Linked DNA regions of Homo sapiens: regions 1 and 3 are each linked to region 2. Evidence: promoter capture Hi-C in 16 types of primary human blood cells and fetal thymus (Javierre and others, 2016). All regions are on one chromosome and are shown on one strand. Each heading gives the region's core, a stretch centred on a gene start or on the middle of the fragment in contact. The rest is flanking DNA. Distances are from core to core; before and after follow the strand shown. Region 1 overlaps LOC105371240 (a long non-coding RNA gene). Region 2 holds the start of C16orf78 (chromosome 16 open reading frame 78). Region 3 overlaps LOC105371240 (a long non-coding RNA gene).

Evidence for each region. The method cuts DNA at HindIII sites, captures the fragments that hold promoters and counts their contacts. A CHiCAGO score of 5 or more calls a contact.
Region 1: a contact is called between a fragment that was not itself captured here and the fragment with the promoter of C16orf78 in region 2, in 2 of 17 cell types (endothelial precursors and erythroblasts). The highest score is 8.1, in endothelial precursors.
Region 3: a contact is called between a fragment that was not itself captured here and the fragment with the promoter of C16orf78 in region 2, in 1 of 17 cell types (endothelial precursors). The highest score is 6.6, in endothelial precursors.

The regions. Positions count from the first base shown.
Region 1 is chr16:48,701,730-48,704,429 of GRCh38, reverse strand. All of the region lies in intron 1 of LOC105371240 (a long non-coding RNA gene), which reads right to left. Among named protein-coding and RNA genes, the nearest start is that of N4BP1, 93 kb to the right of the region's middle. The HindIII fragment of the contact is 6,331 bases long and covers 1-2,700 here.
Region 2 is chr16:49,372,447-49,375,146 of GRCh38, reverse strand. C16orf78 (chromosome 16 open reading frame 78) reads right to left here and starts at 1,343. Exons shown (of 5, transcript NM_144602.4): 1 at 1,058-1,343. The coding sequence starts at 1,207. LOC105371244 (a long non-coding RNA gene) reads left to right here. Exons shown (of 8, transcript XR_001752167.2): 8 at 217-2,700. RefSeq lists enhancers at 429-1,159, 1,160-1,890. The HindIII fragment of the contact is 1,803 bases long and covers 1-1,707 here.
Region 3 is chr16:48,674,949-48,677,648 of GRCh38, reverse strand. All of the region lies in intron 1 of LOC105371240 (a long non-coding RNA gene), which reads right to left. Among named protein-coding and RNA genes, the nearest start is that of N4BP1, 66 kb to the right of the region's middle. The HindIII fragment of the contact is 2,631 bases long and covers 63-2,693 here.

The DNA of each region.
Region 1 (2,700 bases), core at 135-2,634, 670 kb after region 2:
AGACTGCTGTAGAGTGGTACGAAGAAATGAGAAAATTCTCCATATATTTCATATAGAAAATTCTCCCAGATACTTTGTTAAGTGAAAAAACAAGGTGAGGAGCAGTGTTTATAGCATGTAATATTTTGCAGAAAAATAAAAACACATATGTTTATTTCTTTATATAATCATGAGATTCTGAAAACAGACTCAAGAAAGAACAAAAGAACAAGTTATTGGTAGGAGAACTTGTTAGATGGGGCACAAAAGTGAAAGGAAACTCTTTACTATAAACCCATATATATATAATTTTATTTTAAGTTCTGGGATACATGTGCAGGACGTGCAGGTCTGTTACATAGGTAAACGTGTGTCATGGTGGTTTGCTGCACCTACCAACCCATCACCTAAGTATTAAGCACCACATGCATTAGCTATTTATCCTGATGCTCTCCCTCCCCCGACACCCTCCAACAAGCCCCAGGGTGTGTTGTTCCCCTCCCTGTGTCCATGTGTTCTTGTCGTTCAGCTCCCACTTATAAGTGAGAACATGTGGTGTTTGGTTTTCTGTTCCTGAATTAGTTTGCTGACGATAATGGCTTCAAGCTCCATCCATGTCCCTGCAAAGGACATGATCTTCTTCCTTTCTACAGCCACATAGTATTCCACAGTGTGTATGTACCACATTTTCTTTATCCAGTCTATCATTGATGGGCATTTGGGTTTATTCCATGTCTTTGCTATTGTGAATAGTACTGCAGTGAACATACATGTGCATGTATCTTTATAATAAAATGATTTATATTCCTTTGGGTATATACCCAGTAATGGGATTGCTGTGTCAAATGGTATTTCTGGTTCTAGGTCTTTGAGGAATCGCCACACTGTCTTCCACAATGGTTGAACTAATTTACATTCCCACCAACCTGTTCATATATTTTTAACCTCATGAACCTATTATAACCTACTTACAAAATTAAACTTTTAAAAACCTTAATAATGTTGTAGAAATATGTTGAATTGTGGAGGAAAACCTAATATTATTAAAAGGAAAAAGTATTTTATACAACAGAATGAACAGTGACCTTAAGCAAGTCACATTTCTCTGAGCCTGTTTATCTGTAAAATGAAAAAAAAGATGCCTACTTCACAGTCATGAGAATAAATGAGACCAAAATAGGAAACACATATGTTAATAAAACACATAGCTAACACTAAATAAATATAGCTATTAATGATCCCATAAAAACAGTGCTGGAATTACATGCTTGCTACATGTGGTTATCTCTAGGTGACAGGATAGAGGTGGTTTTTATTTTACTTTTTGTGCTTTTCTAGATTTTCCAATTTTGCCATAAAGAAAACACATTCCTTCATGCCTGTAATCCCAGTACTTTGGGATGCCAAGGCAGGAGGATTACTTGAGCACAGGAGTTCGAGGCTGCAATGAGCTATGATCATGCCAATGCAATCCAGCCTGGGTGAAAGAGTGAGACCTTGTCTCAAAAGGAAGGGAGGAAGGAAGGAAGGGAGGGAGGGAGGAAAGAAGGAAGGAAGGAAGCAAGGAAAGAAGGTGGAGGGAGGAAAGAAGGGAAAGAAAAAAGAAAGAAAGAAAGAAAGAAAGAAAGAAAGAAAGAAAGAAAGAAAGAAAGAAAGAAAGAAAGGAAGGAAGGAAGGAAGGAAGGAAGGAAGGAAGGAAGGAAGGAAGGAAGGAAGGGAAGAAAGAGAGAGAGAAAGAAGGGGGAGGGAGGGAGGAAGGGAGGGAGAGAGAGAAAGAAAAAGAAAGAAAGAAAGAAGAAAGATTCCTTTTGTAACAATCTGAAAAAAACAGAAATGTTACTTGTAAAGTGATAGAGAGCAATATTTAAAGTACCTTTCAGGAAGTTCTAGCCAGACCAATAAGGCAAAAGAAAGAAACAAAAGGCATTCAAATCAGAAAAGAAGTCAAACTATCTCTCTTCACTGATTATATGATTCTATATCCAGAAAACCCTAAAGACTCTGCAAAAAAATCCTGGAACTGATAAAAGACTTCAGTAAAGTTTTGGGGTACAAAATCAACGTACAAACATTAGTAGCATTTCTATACACCAATAACATTAAAGCTGGGAGTCAAATAAAGAACATAATACCATTTACAATAGACACACGCACTAAAAAAATACCTAGGACTGTATCTAACAAGGAGGCGGAAGAGCTCTCTGAGGAGAACTAAGAAACACTGCTAAAAGAAATCAGAGATGACACAAACAAATGGAAAAACATTCCATGCTCATGGATTGGAAGAATCAATATCACGAAAATGTCCATACTGCCCAAAACAATCTACAGATTCAATGCTATTCCTATCAAACTACCAATGTCATTTTTCAGAGAATTGGAAACAACTATTCTAAAACTCATATGGAACCAAAAAACAGCCTGAATAGCCAAAGCAAAATCCTAAATAAATCCAGAGACATCGTGTAACTCAACTTCAAAGTATACTATAAGGCTACAGTAACCAAAACAGCATGGTACTGGTACAAAAACAGACATATAAACCAATGGAACAGAATAGAGAACTCAGAAATAAAGCCACACATCTACAGCCATTTGATCTTTGACAAAGTTGACAAAAATTATCAATGGGGAAAGGACTCTCTACTCAATAAATAGTGCTGACATAGCTGGCTAGCTATATGCAGAAGAATGAAACTGGACCCCTACCATTCACCATAT
Region 2 (2,700 bases), core at 94-2,593:
ACTTCTGTGACTTCAATAAAATGACTTATTTTCACTTTCCTTATCCTTCAACTAGGGGTAAAAATGGTGCCTCCCTGGTAGCCTGACTGGGAGCAATTGACCACATAACCCAGGTACAAATCTAAGCACAGGGCCTTGACCACAGTAAACATTAAAAGTTAGTGATGTGTTGAGCATTGTTATTAGTAATGGCATTTTTTACTCATTTTGCTCTAGGGTCAGGAGATTCAAGACCAGGTGGCATCTTCTGCAGAGGACACCACTTTCCAAAGACATGGCTTGGTTCTTCATAGATGATAGGTCTTGGGGGAGCTCTGGGAAAAACTAAGGCAAACTTGGTTGCTACATTTCTTGGAGAAAGAGGAAAGGGTGGGTTAGAACTAGCTCGATGTAGGGTAGAAAAGAGGAGGTATGTTAGCTGGAGTTGCAGTTGCAGTAATGGCAGTGAGGAATGAATGTTCTTTGATTCTGAAGGCATCACAAGGAGAGAAGAGCTGAGGGCAGTAGGAGGATCCCATCCTGCAATATGGAGACCCAGAAGCCACTGCCCCTTGGCCCTTCTAGAATTCTGACCAATACTAACATTTGCCCAGCTTGACTAAACTTTAGACAGGTTTCTTCCTGATGATAGGCCCTTGGCCTCCTTTTCCTTAGAGCATTTCCTCTAGAAAACTTGGATTTGTAAATTTTTTCTCTGCCCCTTTGAGATGTAAATCTCTCAGTCTCTTGCTAGTTTTACAATCCAGGAATGTTTTTCTCAAGGACCTGGGAGGACCCTTTGAAATGTAATCATCAAGAAAGATTGTACCTTGTCTCTCAGTCTCTGTGAGAGGATGGGAGCCTAACATTTATAAGTGCGAATTAGCAACACAGACAGCCTAATCATATTAACTAATTCCCCCACCCCCTTAATGTCCTTGGGTAGTTCTCACTAGCTTATCCCAGCACTTCAAAACCATCCCGCCTTTTGTTTCAGGAGAGTTAAGTTCAATCTCTCTCCCCTACTGCAACTACCTTGAGTAAAGTCTTCCTGCCATTTCTCTTGGATGGTACCCACCTCGGGAGCTTGTTTCTTCTTCCCCTGCCTCCGCTCCAGCCACTCCAGCACACAGGTGAGGTCAGACATGCGCCTATCTTCAGCAGTCTTCCACATGTATTTCCTCTTTGTGGGCATTAAATCCTTCAGGTCCATTTGTTGCTCTGACATTGTGGAGTCTTGCTAGTGGCTTGGGTGGGAGGTGGCTGGCACTGTCTCACTCTTTCGATCCCTTTGTCTGGACTTGATGGCCTGGTGACTTAGAAGGTAGGGTGTGGCCTCCAGATGTGAACATAAAGGGCAGAGTGAGCCAAGACCCTGGGATATTGGCCTTAAAAGGTGGAAGGCCTGGGCAGTGATTGTGAAGTCATTGCCCGTCTTGGTAGCTGGCCCTGAGGTCAGAGTGGAGGTGGGACATTGGCCACCTCCCACTGTTCTCCATGTGGCCACTACCCCTCTTCAGGCGCTATGTCTCCTCTGGACTCTGCCACAGCCTCCTTGCAGCCTCTCCACCTCTACCTCCACAGAGATCTTAATAAAATAAAGGTCTGTCCACGCATCTTCCTTTCTCAAAAACCTTCAATGGCTCCTTGTTGCCTATCTAAAAGAAATCTGAATTCTTTAGTTTGGCATCCTATCTTTCTGTAGTGTACTCTAATTAGAAGAAAGCTTTTTATAAGCCCAATTCGTCTATATTCATTTATTCATCCAACATGTGGTTATCAGGCACCTACTAAGTATTGGGAATGGTGCTGGGGATACAATGCAGGAAAAAAACATAGGCAAACCTCCTAAGACATATGGGCTAGTGGAAAAGACAGGGCAGATAATTACCGTATGAATTCATAATGACAAGTGAAGATGAGTGCTTTCAAAGAAAGGAATGTAGTTCTATGAAAGGCCATATCAATGGTACTAGACTTGGATGGGGTGGTGGGTAGGCCACCTTTGAGCTCTGAGCTAAAGGATAAATAGACTTCAACAGGGCTGTTATGGTCTGGACATTTCTGTCCCTCCAAAATTCATGTGCTGAAATCCTAACCCCCAAGGTGATGGCATTAAAAGGTGGGGTCTTGGGAGGTAATTAGGTCATGAGAGCAGTTCTCTCATGATTGGAATTGGTGCCCTTGCAGAAGAGACTAGAGAGAGCTCCACCATGTGAAGATGTAGTGAGAAGGTGTCACCAGGAAATGGGTTCAGCAGACAACGGAATCTGTCAGAGCCTTAATTTTGGATTTCCTAGGCTTCAAAAATGTGATAAATGAATGTTTGTTGTTTATAAGCTACCCACTTTGTGGTATTTTGTCATAGGCCCAAATGGATTAAGATAAGGGCTTTGGACCAGAGAAATATGCCTGTGCAAAGGCCCTGTGACAAGCGGGAGGCATGGCACTAACAACAGAAGGCAAGGGTGACTAGAGTACCAGAGGCAAAGAGGCAATGGTACAGAGGTGGCCAGAGGCCAGGCCATCCAGGAACTTGGTAGCCACAGGTTCTGCTCAGACTGGGAAGGGAAAGGGAGCAAAGGAAAACAATAAAGGAATTCAAAAAAAGGGGAGGGAGTGGCATGGTCAGGCTTCCCTTTTTTGCTCTAGTAAACTTCTATTGAAGGAAATTATATATACAAAAATGTGCCAGAATCACAAATGAAGACATCTATGTAA
Region 3 (2,700 bases), core at 129-2,628, 700 kb after region 2:
AGCTTCCTTTTTTGCTATGTGCATCCTGATAGTAAGACCTCACTGCTGTTTCTTTGCAAGCTTCTATTTCTTACAACTAAGGCAGCCATATGAGCCAGAGCTTTTAATCAAATAATGCGCTTCAGAGTTTACATAGCTCTCTCACAGCCCATTGGCATTAAATTCTTATAAGACCCCAGAGAGGGAGCACAGTAACTGCTCCATTCCACAGATGAGGTAATTGGGGCTCATAAGGATTAAAGTAACTGGCCAAGTTCACCCAAATAGTAAGGTAAATCAGGGCGGAGCTCAAATCCAGTTCTACTTCCTTGCCCAATGTTCTTTCCCATGTCACCATATAACTACTATCATATATATATACACACAAATGAACTAGGGAAGATGCACTCAGCCACCAAGTCACCCTTTGTGTGTGCTGAGCACCATTCTAAGAGTTCAGACACAGCAGGGAGTGAAACAAAGACCCTTGTCTCATGGAGATTCCATTCATAAGTGTAGTCATGTGAAGCAAACCACAAACATAAAATGAATTCTGGAAGCCCACCATGAAATCTGCCCCATTATCCTGCAACCACCTCAGGGCATGTATGTGATTATTATTACTATACACAGGCATACTCTGGGAGATTGCAGACTTGGTTCCAACTGGCGCACTAAAGCAAATGTCGCAATAAAGTGAGTCACAGATTTTTTTATTTCCCAGTGCATAGAGGAGTTATGTTTACCCTATGCTGTAGTCTAATAAGAGTACAATGCCATTATGTCTAAAACATCAATGTATATACTTTAATTTTAAAAATACGTTATGGCTAAAAATTGCGAATGATCATGTGGGCCTTCAGTGAGTCATATATATATATATATTTTTTTTAGACGGAGTTTTGCTCTTGTTGCCCAGGCTGGAGTGCAATGATGTGATCTCGGCTCACTGCAACCTCCACCTCCCAGGTTCAAGCAATTCTCCTGCTTCAGCCTTACAAATAGCTGAGATTATAGGTGCCTACCACCATGCCCGGCTAATTTTTTGTATTTTTAGTAGAGACAGGTTTCACAATGTTGGTCAGGCTGGTCTCGAACTCCTGACCTCAGATGATCTGTCTGCCTCAGCCTCCCAAAGTGCTGGGATTACAGGTGTGAGCCACCGCACCCGGACAAGTCATAATCTTTTTGCTGGTGGAGAGTCTTGTCTCAATGTTGATGGCTGCTGATTGATCAGAGTGATGGTTGCTCAAGGTTGGGGTGGCTGTAGTAGTTCCTAAAAATAAGACAACAGTGAAGTTTGCCTCATTGATTGACTCTTTCTTTCCTGAAATATTTCTCTGTACCATGTGCTGTTGTTTGGTAGTATTTTACCCACAGTAGAACTTCTTTAAATATTGTATTCAGTTGGCCAGGTGCAGTGGCTTACGCCTGTAATCCTAGCATTTTGGGAGGCCGAGGCAGGCAGATCACGAGGTCAAGAGATCAAGACCATCCTAGCCAACATGGTGAAACCCCGTCTCTACTAAAAATACAAAAATTAGCTGGGCGTGGTGGCACCCACCTGTAGTCCCAGCTACTCGGGAGGCTGAGGCAGGAGAATCGCTTGAACCTGGGAGGCAGAGGTTGCAGTGAGCCGAGATCACGCCACTGCACTTCAGCCTGGTGACAGAGCAAGACACTGTCTCAAAAAAAAAAAAAATCATATCCAATCCTGTCAAATCCTGTCATGGCTTTATCAACTAAATGTATGTAATATTCTAAACACTGTTGTCATTTCAACAATTTTCACAGCATTATTACAAGTAGTTTCCATTTCAAGAAACCAGTTTCTTTGTTCATCCATAAGAAGCAACTTCTTACCCATTCAAGTTTTATGAGATTGCAACAGTTCAATTACATCTTCAGGCTTCACTTCTAATTCTAATTATCTTGCTATTTATAGCACATCTGGAGTGACTTCTTTCACTGAAATCTTAAGCCCTTCAAAGTCATCCATGTCGGTTGAAATCAACTTCCTCCAAACTCCTGTTAATGTTGTGAATCACAAGTGTTCTTAATGACATCTAGAATGGTGAATCTTTTCCGGAAGACTTTCAATTCATTTTGCCCAGATCCAACAGAGGAATCATTGTCTATGGCAGCTATAGCCTTTAAAGCCAAAATTACCCCTTGATTTGTCAGTTGCAGAACTGTGTTATCAGGTATGAAAACTACGTTAATCTCCTTGTGCACCTCCATCAGAGCTCTTGGGTGACCAGGTGCATTGGTCAATAAGCAGTAAATTTTTTTATTATTATTTTGTAGAAACAGGGTCTCCCTACGTTGCCCAAGCTGGTCTTGAATTCCTGGACTCAAGTCATCCTTCCACCTTGGCCTCCCAAAGTGCTGGGATTACAGGTATGAGCCACTGCACCCAGCCTTTTTATTTTTTATTTATTGTTATTATTTGTAGTGAGCAATAAAATTTGAAAAGACTTTTTTCTAAGCAGTAGGTCTCAAAAATGGGTTTAAAATATTCAGTAAACCATGCTATAAAGAGATGTGCTGCCATCCAGGCTATGTTGTTCCATTTATAGAGCATAAGCAGAAGTGATTTAAAATGTTTCTTAAGGGCCCTAGGATTTGGGGAATGGTAAATGAGCACTGGCTTCAACTTAAAGTCATCAGCTGCACTTGCCCCTAATAAGAGATTCAGCCTGTCCTTTGAAGCTTTGAAGC